Linked DNA regions of Homo sapiens: regions 2 and 3 are each linked to region 1. Evidence: promoter capture Hi-C in human tissues and cell types (Jung and others, 2019). All regions are on one chromosome and are shown on one strand. Each heading gives the region's core, a stretch centred on a gene start or on the middle of the fragment in contact. The rest is flanking DNA. Distances are from core to core; before and after follow the strand shown. Region 1 holds the start of AKAP8 (A-kinase anchoring protein 8). Region 2 holds the start of TPM4 (tropomyosin 4). Region 3 overlaps RAB8A (RAB8A, member RAS oncogene family).

What was found. Contacts are between HindIII fragments. The study calls those that stand out against the background at their distance.
Region 2: the fragment with the promoter of TPM4 here is called in contact with the fragment with the promoter of AKAP8 in region 1 in 1 of the 25 tissues and cell types used here (dorsolateral prefrontal cortex).
Region 3: a fragment that was not itself captured here is called in contact with the fragment with the promoter of AKAP8 in region 1 in 1 of the 25 tissues and cell types used here (dorsolateral prefrontal cortex).

Annotation. Positions count from the first base shown.
Region 1 is chr19:15,378,141-15,382,081 of GRCh38, reverse strand. AKAP8 (A-kinase anchoring protein 8) reads left to right here and starts at 2,295. Exons shown (of 14, transcript NM_005858.4): 1 at 2,295-2,369. The coding sequence starts at 2,351. AKAP8L (A-kinase anchoring protein 8 like) reads left to right here. Exons shown (of 14, transcript NM_014371.4): 13 at 1,470-1,565; 14 at 1,652-2,032. The coding sequence ends at 1,960. RefSeq lists silencers at 1,670-2,159, 2,500-3,049 and enhancers at 1,324-2,238, 2,010-2,304, 2,239-3,154. The HindIII fragment of the contact is 19,214 bases long and covers 1-3,941 here.
Region 2 is chr19:16,073,988-16,077,929 of GRCh38, reverse strand. It overlaps TPM4 (tropomyosin 4), which reads right to left and starts at 1,435. Exons shown (of 8, transcript NM_003290.3): 1 at 1,233-1,435. The coding sequence starts at 1,364. RefSeq lists enhancers at 364-1,093, 1,094-1,821, 1,822-2,551 and a silencer at 876-1,785. The HindIII fragment of the contact is 17,695 bases long and covers 1-3,942 here.
Region 3 is chr19:16,124,176-16,128,080 of GRCh38, reverse strand. RAB8A (RAB8A, member RAS oncogene family) reads right to left here. Exons shown (of 8, transcript NM_005370.5): 4 at 2,534-2,611; 5 at 555-644; 6 at 1-55. It overlaps HSH2D-AS1 (HSH2D and RAB8A antisense RNA 1), which reads left to right. Exons shown (of 2, transcript NR_199156.1): 2 at 1,094-3,905. Among named protein-coding and RNA genes, the nearest start is that of HSH2D-AS1, 14 kb to the left of the region's middle. The HindIII fragment of the contact is 7,709 bases long and covers 1-3,905 here.

The DNA of each region.
Region 1 (3,941 bases), core at 1,046-3,545:
GCAGCACAGATTCTTCTGTCTTTTATCCACAGCAAAAATACCCAACAGTGACAACATCCAGTGCTGATGGGCAGGCAGGAGGACCAGGTCATTGTTTTAACACAGGTGGAAGAAGCATGACTTGCAAATGTTCTGCAGTTAATTGGGCACTATCACTTTGAAACCAAACCTGGTTAGAATGAAAAGCACCAGCATGGAAGTGTACAAGTTTATTCTAGTGTTGCTGGGTTATTGTGGAGAAGATCTGGAAGCAACATAAATGTGCCTCACTTGGGAGAATTTATGGTGTGGTTATCTGGGCATCTAGAACCAGGAGGATAAACTGTTGGCAAGTGAGAGTCACTGGGGGAACGGTCTATAGTAGTATCCTAATTGTGTATCTTTAGTTTATTGTGAGCATGTATGATGTCTGTTAATATTTTCCTCCAGTAGTAGAGAAAACGTGCTAAGGAAAAAAAAAAATGAAGATGGAGAGAGTAGAAACAGCAAGTGAGAAGGCTTTCTGAAACATGTAAATGGAGTGGGAAGGACTCAATGGGCTCTCCCACCCCACCAAAAATATCCTTCTTTTACCTTATGGTTTTTATAATGATCAAAGTGAGATTTGCCTGTACTCCCACCATGAGATGGCCCAGCATATTGATGGAAATCCTTCCAGACAAAATGGCTCTGGCATGCTCTGCAGACAGTACTATATTATACACCTTTCTTATGCCAGTGCAGAGATGAGCCCGATTTGAAGGGCTGCATGATGTTCTTTTGAATGTACGATTTATTTAACCTCTTCTGCACTGAGGAACGTTTAGGTGTTTTCCCATTTTTCACCACTACAATCAGTGTGCACGCATGTTTCCAGTTCTTAAATTTAGGATACGTTCTGGGAAGGGATTAATGAGACAGATTTTTACTTTTCATACATTGTGTCAAACTGCTTTCCAAAAAATACGGAAACAGTTGATCCTCCCACCAGCAGAGAAGACTCTCTTCACCCTTGCATGACTGGGAATAATTCTTCATTCTTGGAATTCTGTGGGTTAAAAAAGACGTTTCATTAAATATCTGTTCCTGTTTTTATATCTTCCCCGTTGGCCCCAAAGTGCTCCTTGCCTATTAGCCTAGTTGGCACCTTGTTACAGGTTGCACCCACCTTTGGCTCTTAGTTTCTTAATTGTTCACTGCTTATAGCTTTTTTGTAAGCAAATCAGATTTCTGTAATACAGCCGTAAAGTTAGAGATATATAGATCTGTATTTTTATTTACCTACAGTAAGTGTGGTGTGGAAGGAGAGGGAATTTGAACAAAGATCAGATAGGTTGTGGTTCCATGCTTGTGGAGTGGCCCTCCGTTGGTGGGGCTGGAAGTGCGTGGGTGCAGGGGCGGGGTGGGGTCCCTCTAAGCTGGCAGGGTCGGGGCAGCAACTTGTAGGGCACTCAGAGCAGCCTCTCCAGCTCCTTCTGCCCTGCCCGCAGCTCATGATGGAGCAGTCCAAGAAGTCCTCCCTCATGGTGGCCCGCAGTATTCTCAACAACAAGCTCATCAGCAAGAAGCTGGAGCGCTACCTGAAGGTGAGGCACTGGTCCGGGCCTGCCCTGTCCCCAGCTTAGTCCCCGCCTGTGCTCCCTCCCTTCAGTGTCCGCGCCCCTCCCCACAGGGCGAGAACCCTTTCACCGACAGCCCCGAGGAGGAGAAGGAGCAGGAGGAGGCTGAGGGCGGTGCCCTGGACGAGGGGGCGCAGGGCGAAGCGGCAGGGATCTCGGAGGGCGCAGAGGGCGTGCCGGCGCAGCCTCCCGTGCCCCCAGAGCCAGCCCCCGGGGCCGTGTCGCCGCCACCGCCGCCGCCCCCAGAGGAGGAGGAGGAGGGCGCCGTGCCCTTGCTGGGAGGGGCGCTGCAACGCCAGATCCGCGGCATCCCGGGCCTCGACGTGGAGGACGACGAGGAGGGCGGCGGGGGCGCCCCGTGACCCGAGCTCGGGGCGGGCGGAGCCCGCGTGGCCGAAGCTGGAAACCAAACCTAATAAAGTTTTCCCATCCCACCTCCGGGTTTCTCTGTTACTGTGCCGCGCGGGCGGGGCGGGGTGGGCAGAGGGGCGGGGTGCGCATGCGCGCGGGCCGGGCCGTCGGGCACCGCGGTGGGACCACAACTCCCATTAGGCCACGGAGCTGGATCGTAGCAGCCCGAAAGGCCAGCTGGGACGGCGAGGGCGGGCCCTCGTGAAGACCAGCCAATGGGGGCGCGCGGAAGTAGTGACGTGTGCGCCTGGTCTTCCAGTAGTCGATGGCGGAGGTGCGCTGAACGCATGCGTGCTGTGGTCGCCTAGTAAACGGGGCTGCTGGTGGGCCGCGTCGAAGACATGGACCAGGGCTACGGAGGTTTGTGTTGGCTGCTGGGTGCGGAGCGGGGAGGGAAGGCTCTGTGCGGGCGACGCAGCCGCTGCGCAGACTGCCGCCGGCCGGGCCTTCGTCCCGAGCGTGGTTGCCCCAGCTGGGCCCTCCGGAGAGGCGGCCAGGGCGCGCGCGCGCCGCTCATTGGGCTTTGGCGCCGTCGCTCCCGGGGCTCTGCGTGCGGATTGGCCGCCAGGCCCCGAGGAGGCGGGCGGGACTCGGGGTTGGGGCAGACGCCGCGGTGGGCTTCGTGGGGGCGTCTTAGACAGTGTGGGCCGTTTTTGCCCCTCACCTTCGGCGGAGTCCTTCCGGCCCCCAGCGACCCCGGGGTTTGCACTCCCGGCTTCCTCTTCCGAAGACGCCACAAAATGGCGGCGCTAGGGGGGCGGAGCTACAGCGTGGGGTTGTGAGGTCGGACCCGGGGAGCTGGGTCTGGGGCCGCGGGCGGACCGCGGGGGCCGCCTCTCTCCCGACCTGCCCTAGGCCCGCGGGGCCGTGTAGGGTCTCCGCTGGGCTCACGTGGCCCAGGGCGCCTGTCCCGGAAGCCGTCGGGCTGCGCGGGGTCGGGCCTTTAGTCCCCGGTGCAGCGCGGTGGGGCCGAGTGCTGCCGGCGCGAGAGTCAGCCTCGCCGGGCTCCAGCTCTGTACCCGGCGCGTGCTGGCTTGGGACAGGATGGTGAGGGGCAGATGCTGAGTGTTCGTATAAAGCTGGAAACCTGATGTGCCCTGGGGCTGGTGACATTGGCAGTTCTCCTTTAGGCAGTCTGTTGTGGTGGCCTGGAGGGGCCGAGGGGCTGTGCAGGAGGGAACGTGTCCTTTCCCCACTAGGATTTAGCGCTTGGCCTGCAGTAGGGCCGATCTTCTCGAGCTGCCTGCTCCCTGCTTCTGGAATCAGAGCCTTTTGGGAGCAAAGTTTGCCCACAGGGGATAGTTGGGACATGCTGGGTGGAGCTCGACTGGTTGTAGAGAAGCTAGTGGTCTGATCCTGGCTGCAGGAGCTCGAGAAGTTGTCGATCTTGAGAAGTGGCAGGGCAAAAGTATCCCAGCACCAGAAATTGCAGAGAGAGGTTTCGGTCCTGAGGCGGCAGCGTGCGCGGTGTGCTTTGGTGTCTTCCGGGTCCTAGCGAAGGCTCAGCCTGGCTCTCCTGGTCTTCCGCAGCCTGGGTAGATTTCACCATTCTTTCCCTTCTTTCCCATCAGATCTTTTCTGCAGGTATTGTATTCCTTCTTTTCATTCTTAGTTTGGAGAGGTTTTTTTTACCCCCTCTTCCTACCTGCCGAAAACCTTTCAGACACACTGGAGATAGTTAAGCTTCCCTGATTTCTTGTGTTTCCGGGAGCGTTTTAAGGTTAATAGTGCGTGCCACTTACACTAGAGCTTCACAGAGAAGCAGTCTCTCGAGGTTGGTTACTTGCTGTTGGAATCTGCAGTCTGCCTTTCTGCTGCACGGATGCGAATTTAGAAGGTTTTGCGGTATGACGGAGGGGAAGGCGTAGCATAGCAGAGGGCAAAACTCAGCAGTATGACTGGGTCAAGTCTCGTAACCCATGAGCCTAGCTC
Region 2 (3,942 bases), core at 186-2,685, 700 kb before region 1:
ATTAGCTGGGCGTGGTGGCGGGCACCTGTAATCCCAGCTACTCGGGAGGCTGAAGCAGGAGAATCTCTTGAACTCGGGGGGTGGAGGTTGCAGCGAGCCGAGATCGCACCACTGCACTCCAGCCTGGGCGACAGAGTGAGACTGCCTCAAAAACAAAACAACAAAAAACAACAACACAATTGATTATTTACAAAGCGCCAGGCTCCACGCCTGAGATTTACTCCTGGGACCCTCCCTGCTACTCTGGGGGGTCGGGATTCTTATCAGTCCTACTCGCAGATGGGAAAAAAGCTCCTAGAGAGCAAATACCAAGTCATGAAGCCTGTGGGTGGCATGATATGGGACCAGAATCCAAATCTGTCCCCAGACCCTGGCGGTGCCACCATCTGTCCCGAGGGACAGCCAGGAGGATGATGCAGAGAGGATGGTGAAACTCCCTCCTTTTTCAGACCCATTGTTTATCTCGGGCCCTGCGACTCGCGGCGGAGGCGCACAGCAGGCGCTCAAACGATCGTGGGTTCAGGGCCCCGCGCCAGCGTTCCCGGGGCCTTCTGGAGAGAGGCAGGGTCCCGCCGCCCCGGTTCCCGCAGGAATCAGCTGGAGAAAGGCGGGCGGCTTGGGGCTGAACTTCCTCCACCCCCCATCCCCCCCGCCGCCTGGAGCAGACACGTCGCCGCCGCGCCCCTGGGAACGGTCAGGGAAGCAAGCAGAAGCCGGGAAGCCGCGAAAGAGGCGAGAAAGTGCGACCCCCTCCCCAGATCCCCGGTCCCCCGTCGAAATCCCTGTCGGCCGGTCAAACCCTAGACAATGGAAGCTCCACGTTTTCATCCTCATTCTCCCCCACAAGTCCGGTCGCGGGTTCCCCTCGGCCCGGGACCCCGGCGCCAGCCCCGGAGTCGGAGCCTGCACGATACGCCCCCTCCCGCCGCTCCACTTCTCCACCCGGAGATCGCTCACCCCCTCCGCCCCATCCCCCCATTTCCCGCTTGGCCGGCCCCGCCCGACCCGGAGGCGGCGCCCCCTCCCCTGTCCCAGGCCCAGGAAGGAGGACGGCGGAGGAAGTAGGGGGTCCTGGCTGCGGGCGCAGGGATGTGGGTCGGCGATCGGCGTCCGAGGGCGTAAAAAGGCGGCCCGAGGACTGCGCGCGGGCGGGCAGCGCGGGAAGCCGGGAAGAAAGGAGGGCGCGCGGGGGAGGAGGCTGCGGGTGCGGGGCCCGAGGCCGGGGCGCTCACTTTCTCGCGCCGCTCGCGCTCGCCGTCCAGCTCCCGCTGCAGGCCCTGCGCGCGGTCTTCCGCCTCGTCCGCCTGCTGCTGCAGGGCCTGGATCTTGCGTTTCACCGCCTCCAGGGAGTTGAGGCCGGCCATGGCGCGGAGGCGCAGAGGCGCACGGGCAGCGGCGGACGCTCGGCTGGGCTCGGCTCCGGCGAGAGCTGCACAGCCGCGCCCCGGCCCCCCAAGCCTTTGCCTGCGCGGGGGCCGCCCCCGCCTCTCCCCGCCCCCCGGGCCGGCTGCCGTCGGGGCGATGAGGTCACCCGGCCGGACCGCCGACGTCAGCACCGCTGGGGGAGGGCCTGACGTCGGCACCGCTGGCCACAGCTGCTGGAAAGTGCCCCTTTTCGGGACTTATTTGGAGAAAGCGCTGGGAGGCGCCGCCTTCTCCTCCTCCTCTTCCTCCTCCCCCTGCGGCTCTCCCCGCCTTCCCGGCCCCGGGGCTCCGGCCTGGCCCCGCCGCGGGCTCCCGCATCCCTGCACACGTACGTCGGAGGCCTTCTTCTCCGTGAGCTCCAGCTTCTCCTGCGCGTCCTTCAGGTCCTCGGAATATTTATCCAGCTCGTCCTCTGTCCCTTTTAGTTTCTTCTGGAGGTGCGTCAGCTCCTCCTCCACCTGGGGACGACAGAGCGAGGAACGGGTCAGCCTGGGGGGGGGGTCACGTCCCCGAGGTGCAGGGGCGGTCCCCCCCAATATTCACAAGAGTCCTCCGTCTCTCTCTGGGCATCAGTTTCCTTATCTGTAGAACAGGGGTTGCGATAGCATGCACCACGCCATCCATGCTACCTGATAGTGGGATTTTCACATCTTTCCCTCGTCCTGAGGACCAGCTGTTTTGGGCTTATTGGGGTCCCCAGTACTCTAGGGAGATCAATGGCAGCTTTTGGGAAACTGAAGACTCCAAATGTTTTCCAGAAATACACACATTCCAGTTTCAGAGGTGCAGCCTCACCATGATCTGGAGTTAAGCAATCTCATTCTCTGCGCGTGGATCCCTCCGCCCATCCCTGTCCCCAGCCTTTCTCCCTCTGGTTCTGACCCCAACACGGGGTCAGAGAAACTTTCTAACAAATACGCCTGCCCTCTTTCTGCCTAGAACCTGCTATGGCTCCCTATGGCCCAAGGCAGTGGTTCTTAGACTGTCTTACCAAAATACTCTGAAGGGCTGAAGGGCTCAGACCTAGTCCCTCATTTCTGGGCTTTGGGGAGCTTGGCTAGAAGAGACTCGCCCCTACAGGATCACTTTCTTTGAAGGCTCGGGTTAAATCTTTAAAATTTTTGCATATAGGCCATGTTCATTTTAATAAAAATGTCCCCTACTTTCCCTAAATTTTCAGTCCTCTGTTTATCCCAAGAGTCCTATCCTCCCATCACTCCTAGTTTGAGAAGCTCAGGCCTATGGATTACAAACCACAGACCCCATCACCTCTCTTTGTCACCCCCCACCACACCGGTCTAGAGTTGGCTCAAGAAGACTTTTCTGTCACCTCCAGGCTGAAACTCCCTCCCTGGGCCCCCAACTCTGGATTAGGGTGATCATATCCAGCTCATGCCTGGATCTGACTTTTTTTTTTGAGAGTCTCGCTCTGTCACCAAGGCTGGAGTGCAGTGGCACGATCTCAGCTCACTGCAACCTCCGCCTCCTGGGTTCAAGTGATTCTCCTGCCTCAACCTCCCCGGTAGCTGGTACTACAGGTGCACACCACCACGACTGACTAATTTTTGTATTTTCAGTAGAGACAGGGTTTTGCAATATTGGCCAGGCAGGTCTCAAACTCCTGACCTCAAGTGATCTGCCCGCCTCGGCCTCCCAAATTGCTGGGATTGCAGGCGTGAGTCGCCACACCTGGCTTGGATCTGACTTTTGCCTTAGATGGTTTGACACTGATCTTGTTCCTGCTCCCAGGGTGGGCAGACAGCCCCCACTGAGCCCAGCTTCATTCTCCTGCTTCCTCCCCACAGCAGGAGGCTCAGAGAGGTGGGATGACTTTCCCCAGGTCACACAGCACAGGGTTTGAGCCCAGGTCTTCTGGAATATAAGCCTATAATGAACTGAATGCTTGCTTTTGCCCCCTCTCCAATTCATGTGTTGAAGCCCTCATCTCCATGTGATGGTAATTGGTGATGGGGCCTTTGGAAGATGATGAGGTTTGGGTGAGGTCATGAGGGTTGACCCACCATGATGGGATTAAGGCCCTTATGAGAAGAGGCCAGAACTTGGTTATCCTCTTCCAATGTGAGGACACAGCAAGAAGGTGGCTGTCTGCAAGCTAGCTAGAGAGCGCTCACCAGACATTTAATCTGCCAGCATCTTGATCTTGGACATCTAGCCTCCAGACTGTAAACAATAAATGTCTATTACTGAAGCTACCCAGTCTATGGTGTTTTGTTATAACTGCCTGAGCTGACAAAGACAAAGCCCTTGGCCCTGTTCCTCACACTAGGCCAGCTTCCCTTCCTCCCTCTCTGACTTGCTTCTCTTCTTTTTTTTCTTGAAGAGGGTATGTTAAAAAAGCTGCTGTGCCCGTGGCTTCTAGACTGAGCTCTGAATCCTGTCTGGGCTACGTGCTCACCCCTGAGTGGATGTGCAAAATGTACCAGGTGCCCCATATGTGTGTGTGTGTGTATGTTTTTTTTTTGCCTTTTTTTTTTTTAACCTGATCTTGCTGTGTGT
Region 3 (3,905 bases), core at 1,192-3,691, 750 kb before region 1:
TGATGTTGGCCTTCGCGCTGGTCTCCATGAACTTGATTCCATAGTCGAGGGCCAGCTGTGAGAGAGGGAGGCACACGCATGAGCACACCAGCCGCCGGGCGCATCTGAGCTTGCCTAAAACAGGAGCTGAAGGCAGGGCCGGCGCCAAGAGGGAGCAGCAACAGGGCTGGGGCTGTGGGCGTGACTTCCTGGATCACTCCCTCAATTCTATAGTGAATGCCCCTCCACAGGGCCTCACAGGGCATGGAGTTGCTGGGGATGGCAGCTGAGATGGGAGGGTGGCGGGGACCTGCTGGGATCAAACTATGGCTCTGTTCCCCGCTCCTGTGGTCTTGAAAGTCTGGAGCGGGGCCATGGTAGGTTTTGATGAGATGCCCGCAGAGTGCACCCAAGAAGCCCCGGCTGGGTGTGTGCTTCTGTCATCCCATGGCACGTGCCCCACTGGGGTGACCAACTCGTCTCAGGCCCCTGGGGCAGAGGAGGGACAGGGGAAGGCCTCTGCACAAGAACCCCAAGACCCCGAGGCCCTCTGCCCCTTGTGCCACCATGCCCACCTTTTCTCCCCGTTCCTTGGAAACTTGTCTCTTGTCATTCACATCACACTTGTTCCCGAGTATCATCTTTTCGACGTCTGCAGAGGCGTGCTGAGAGGGAGGGGGACAGACGGGGGATCAGACCGGATGACACAGGCCAGGTGCCTCTGCCAACACACAGTCTGTCCCCAGAAATCAGAGCGGTGGGGTCAGGACTGCTAGGTACAGCCTGGTCTAAGGGACAAGCTGAAGCTCAGAGAGGCCAAGCAGCCGGCCCCATGTCACACAGCCAATGCCAGGGCTGGGGCCAGGGTTCTAGCTGCTACTCTGAGCAAATGCACATTTTCTGAAATGCTTTCTGGCAGCTTCTATGGCTGTATCAATCAAGCCCCCGCACCTGGGATGCTGGGCGGGTCTAGCCTATGGGAGGTGAGTGAGGCTGAGATATTTACCCCCCGACCTTGGCTTTCCTCCTTCCCTCCCTGGCTCCTCTGCAAGAGGCCCCAGCTGTTGTCCTGGGACCTTCTGCTTTGACACTTTTTTTTTTGTTTTTTTTTGAGATGGAGTCTCGTTCTGTCTCCCAGGCTGGAGTGTAGTGGCATGATCTCGGCTCACTGCAACCTCTGCCTTCAGGTTCAAGCGATCCTCAACCTCCCGAATAGCTGAGATTACAGGCATCTGCCACCATACCAGGCTAATTTTTTGTATTTTTAGTAGAGACAGAGTTTCGCCATGTTGGCTAGGCTGGTCTCAAACTTCTGACCTCAGGTGATCTGCCCGCCTCAGCCTCCCAAACTGCTGGGATTACAGGCATAAGCCACCTCGCCTGGCCCTGACATTTCAACTATTTTTGGGCTCCAGAAACAGGCCGTGCCTGAGGTGGTCGCAACTCGAGGCCGTCACCAGCTGCAGGCACTTCACCACCCTGTCTGATGTTGCCCAAACTCTGCCCTCATACCCAAAGGCAGCTCCTTCGTCAAGTCTCCCTGGGTCCCCATGGAGCGGACCACGCTTCCTGGAGGACGGGGACACTGGAAACTGCTGTCTTCTTCCACCAGCTCAGACTTGGTCTCTGGAACCTACTGCGCCACTCCCTGCCTCACTTCCCATGAACCAGAAGGTGGCTCCTGCCCGCTGGCCAGAAACAGAGACCTTTCACAAAGACCAGGCTCTCCTCCTCTCCACGGATGAAGACAGCTTTCCCAGCTGGGGTGCAGCCCTGCACTGGCAAATTTGGCAGCACAGCCCTCTCAGGGTCACTGGGGAGGTGAGCCCAGTGCAATGACTCACAAATGATGGGGTGGCCTCTCGGCCTGGCCTGGGAGGTCCATGAGTCCTGGGTGGACAGTGATATGCCCTTTTGCTGTGGTTTTATAGATGGGAAAAGTTCTCTGGCTGTGCCTCAGACCTGAAGCCCCACATGGTTAGTTATAGAAAGCTGCAGGTGCCGGCAGCCAGGAAGGCTTTGGGGGTGAGGTCAGCTCTTTGGGGAGCAGAAGATGAAGATGCTGGCTTTGGGAGGGGAGGAGGGGTTGGCCTACTTCTCACTGCTCTATGGTTCAAGGTCTGAACACAGGTCGTTTGTACCAGGTCACACCCTGCTCCGATATAGCTCAAAGTACAACTGACGCCTGCTCACCACACCCTCCAACTACAAGGGTCACACCTGTGCTAGACCCTTCCTTCTCTAGAAAGCACCCAACACTCATGGTGACCACAAGCTTGGATATCCTTTCTCTTATAACCATGACACTGGCCAGATCCAACAGCCTAGCTGGAGGGATGGGCTCCGAGGGGCTCCGGGGTGGGGCCAGGCCAGTGTGTGGTCCCTGGGGCCGGCTGCTTGCATCTCAGTCCCTGCTCCCACCATGTCCCTGACTAGGAGGCTGTGGGCAAGTGGCCTGTATGTGTCTCTGCACCTTGGCCTTCTCATGAGTAAACCAGAGGGCTCTGGGACAAGGACTGAAGCAGGGACAGTGGGAGGAGCCGGAGGGCCTCACCTCCTCAATGTTGCGAATCCAGTTCCGGATGTTGTCGAAGGACTTCTCGTTGGTGATGTCGTAGACCAGCATGATGCCCTGCGCGGGGAGAGAAGACACAGGTGCCTGATCGGCTGCAGGCTCTGGAAGGGAGGCCTCAGCGGCACCAGAGAACAGTGGTGGGGAGCCCAGCACCCACTGCACAGCCAGGCCCATTAGCTGCCGCCCTCCCCACCTCTGTGGAGCCCCGGAAGCCAGCCCCCTCCTCTCCATCCCTGTGGCCCTTCTTTCTGCTGGGTTCTGGCACCAGCCTTGTCCTGCCCCCCGGGCCGCTGAGGTGACCCTTCTGCCTCACAGGCCAGCCCCTGCCACGCACTCGCTGACAAGCCCGGCTGGCTCCCCTCATGGCCCACGGGGTGGTGCAGCCTGACGGTGGGAGCCGGTCCACAGGCCCACTGCCAGCAGCACTCCCCTCACGCTGACCCTCCCCTGCAATCGGCCTCCTCTTCACCCCTTGCTCACCCCACGCTCTGCCTGAGCCACCTACCAGGCACAACTGAGCCCAGGAAGTCCTGACCCGACATCCACACAACTTCCAGTGACCCCACCACAGAGGGAACCGGCTGTGTGAAGATGGAGCCGAGAGTGCCAAGGCCCTTCCAGTTCCCTAACCTAGACGTGAGCAACTGGGAGACGGCTCGTGGGTCCTGGAAGAGCTTCGGGGCAGCCCCGCCTCAGCCTGGGTCCACAGCCTCGCTACTGCTGTGGACAAGCGCAAACATGCCCATGCGATGCAAGGGGAAACTGAGGCACAGAGACGTGACCTTTAAGATTCAAGCACGGGGGGCGGGGGGGGGCTAACTCCAAAAGCACTGATGACACCTATCCTCTCAGCAATATCCCTGGGCCTTTTTCAGCCCCAGAACCCACATGTGGGGGCCACCCTCTGACGGTCTGTGTGGTTCTCGATGTCCTTGTGGAGTGCCCACAGCGGGCCAGCCTGCAGTGCCATCACAAGTCCCCCTTTGTTGCCGGGCATCCTGGGCTCCAAGGCACGTGGCCTGCTCATGGCCAGGCCTGGATTTCTTCCTTCCTCCTCGCTACCTGCTCCCCAGGCCCAGCCCTGCATCTGTGGCACCTGAGGGCACTGATGACTTCTGCTGCTGGCCAAGTTGTCTGGGGCCATCCAAGTTTGCAGAATAAGGACACGGGCCATGTGGTAATGGTGAGACAGATGTGGGTGCAAGAGTGTGGGACAAAAACGACACAGATGGGGCAAGAAAGTCACTGCAACCCCAAATCCTCCTGGGAATTCAGGGACATGAATAATGGCCTCACAGTCAGCCGCAACCATGGCGAAGAACCTCAAGGCTGCAGTGGCCCATGATGTCTG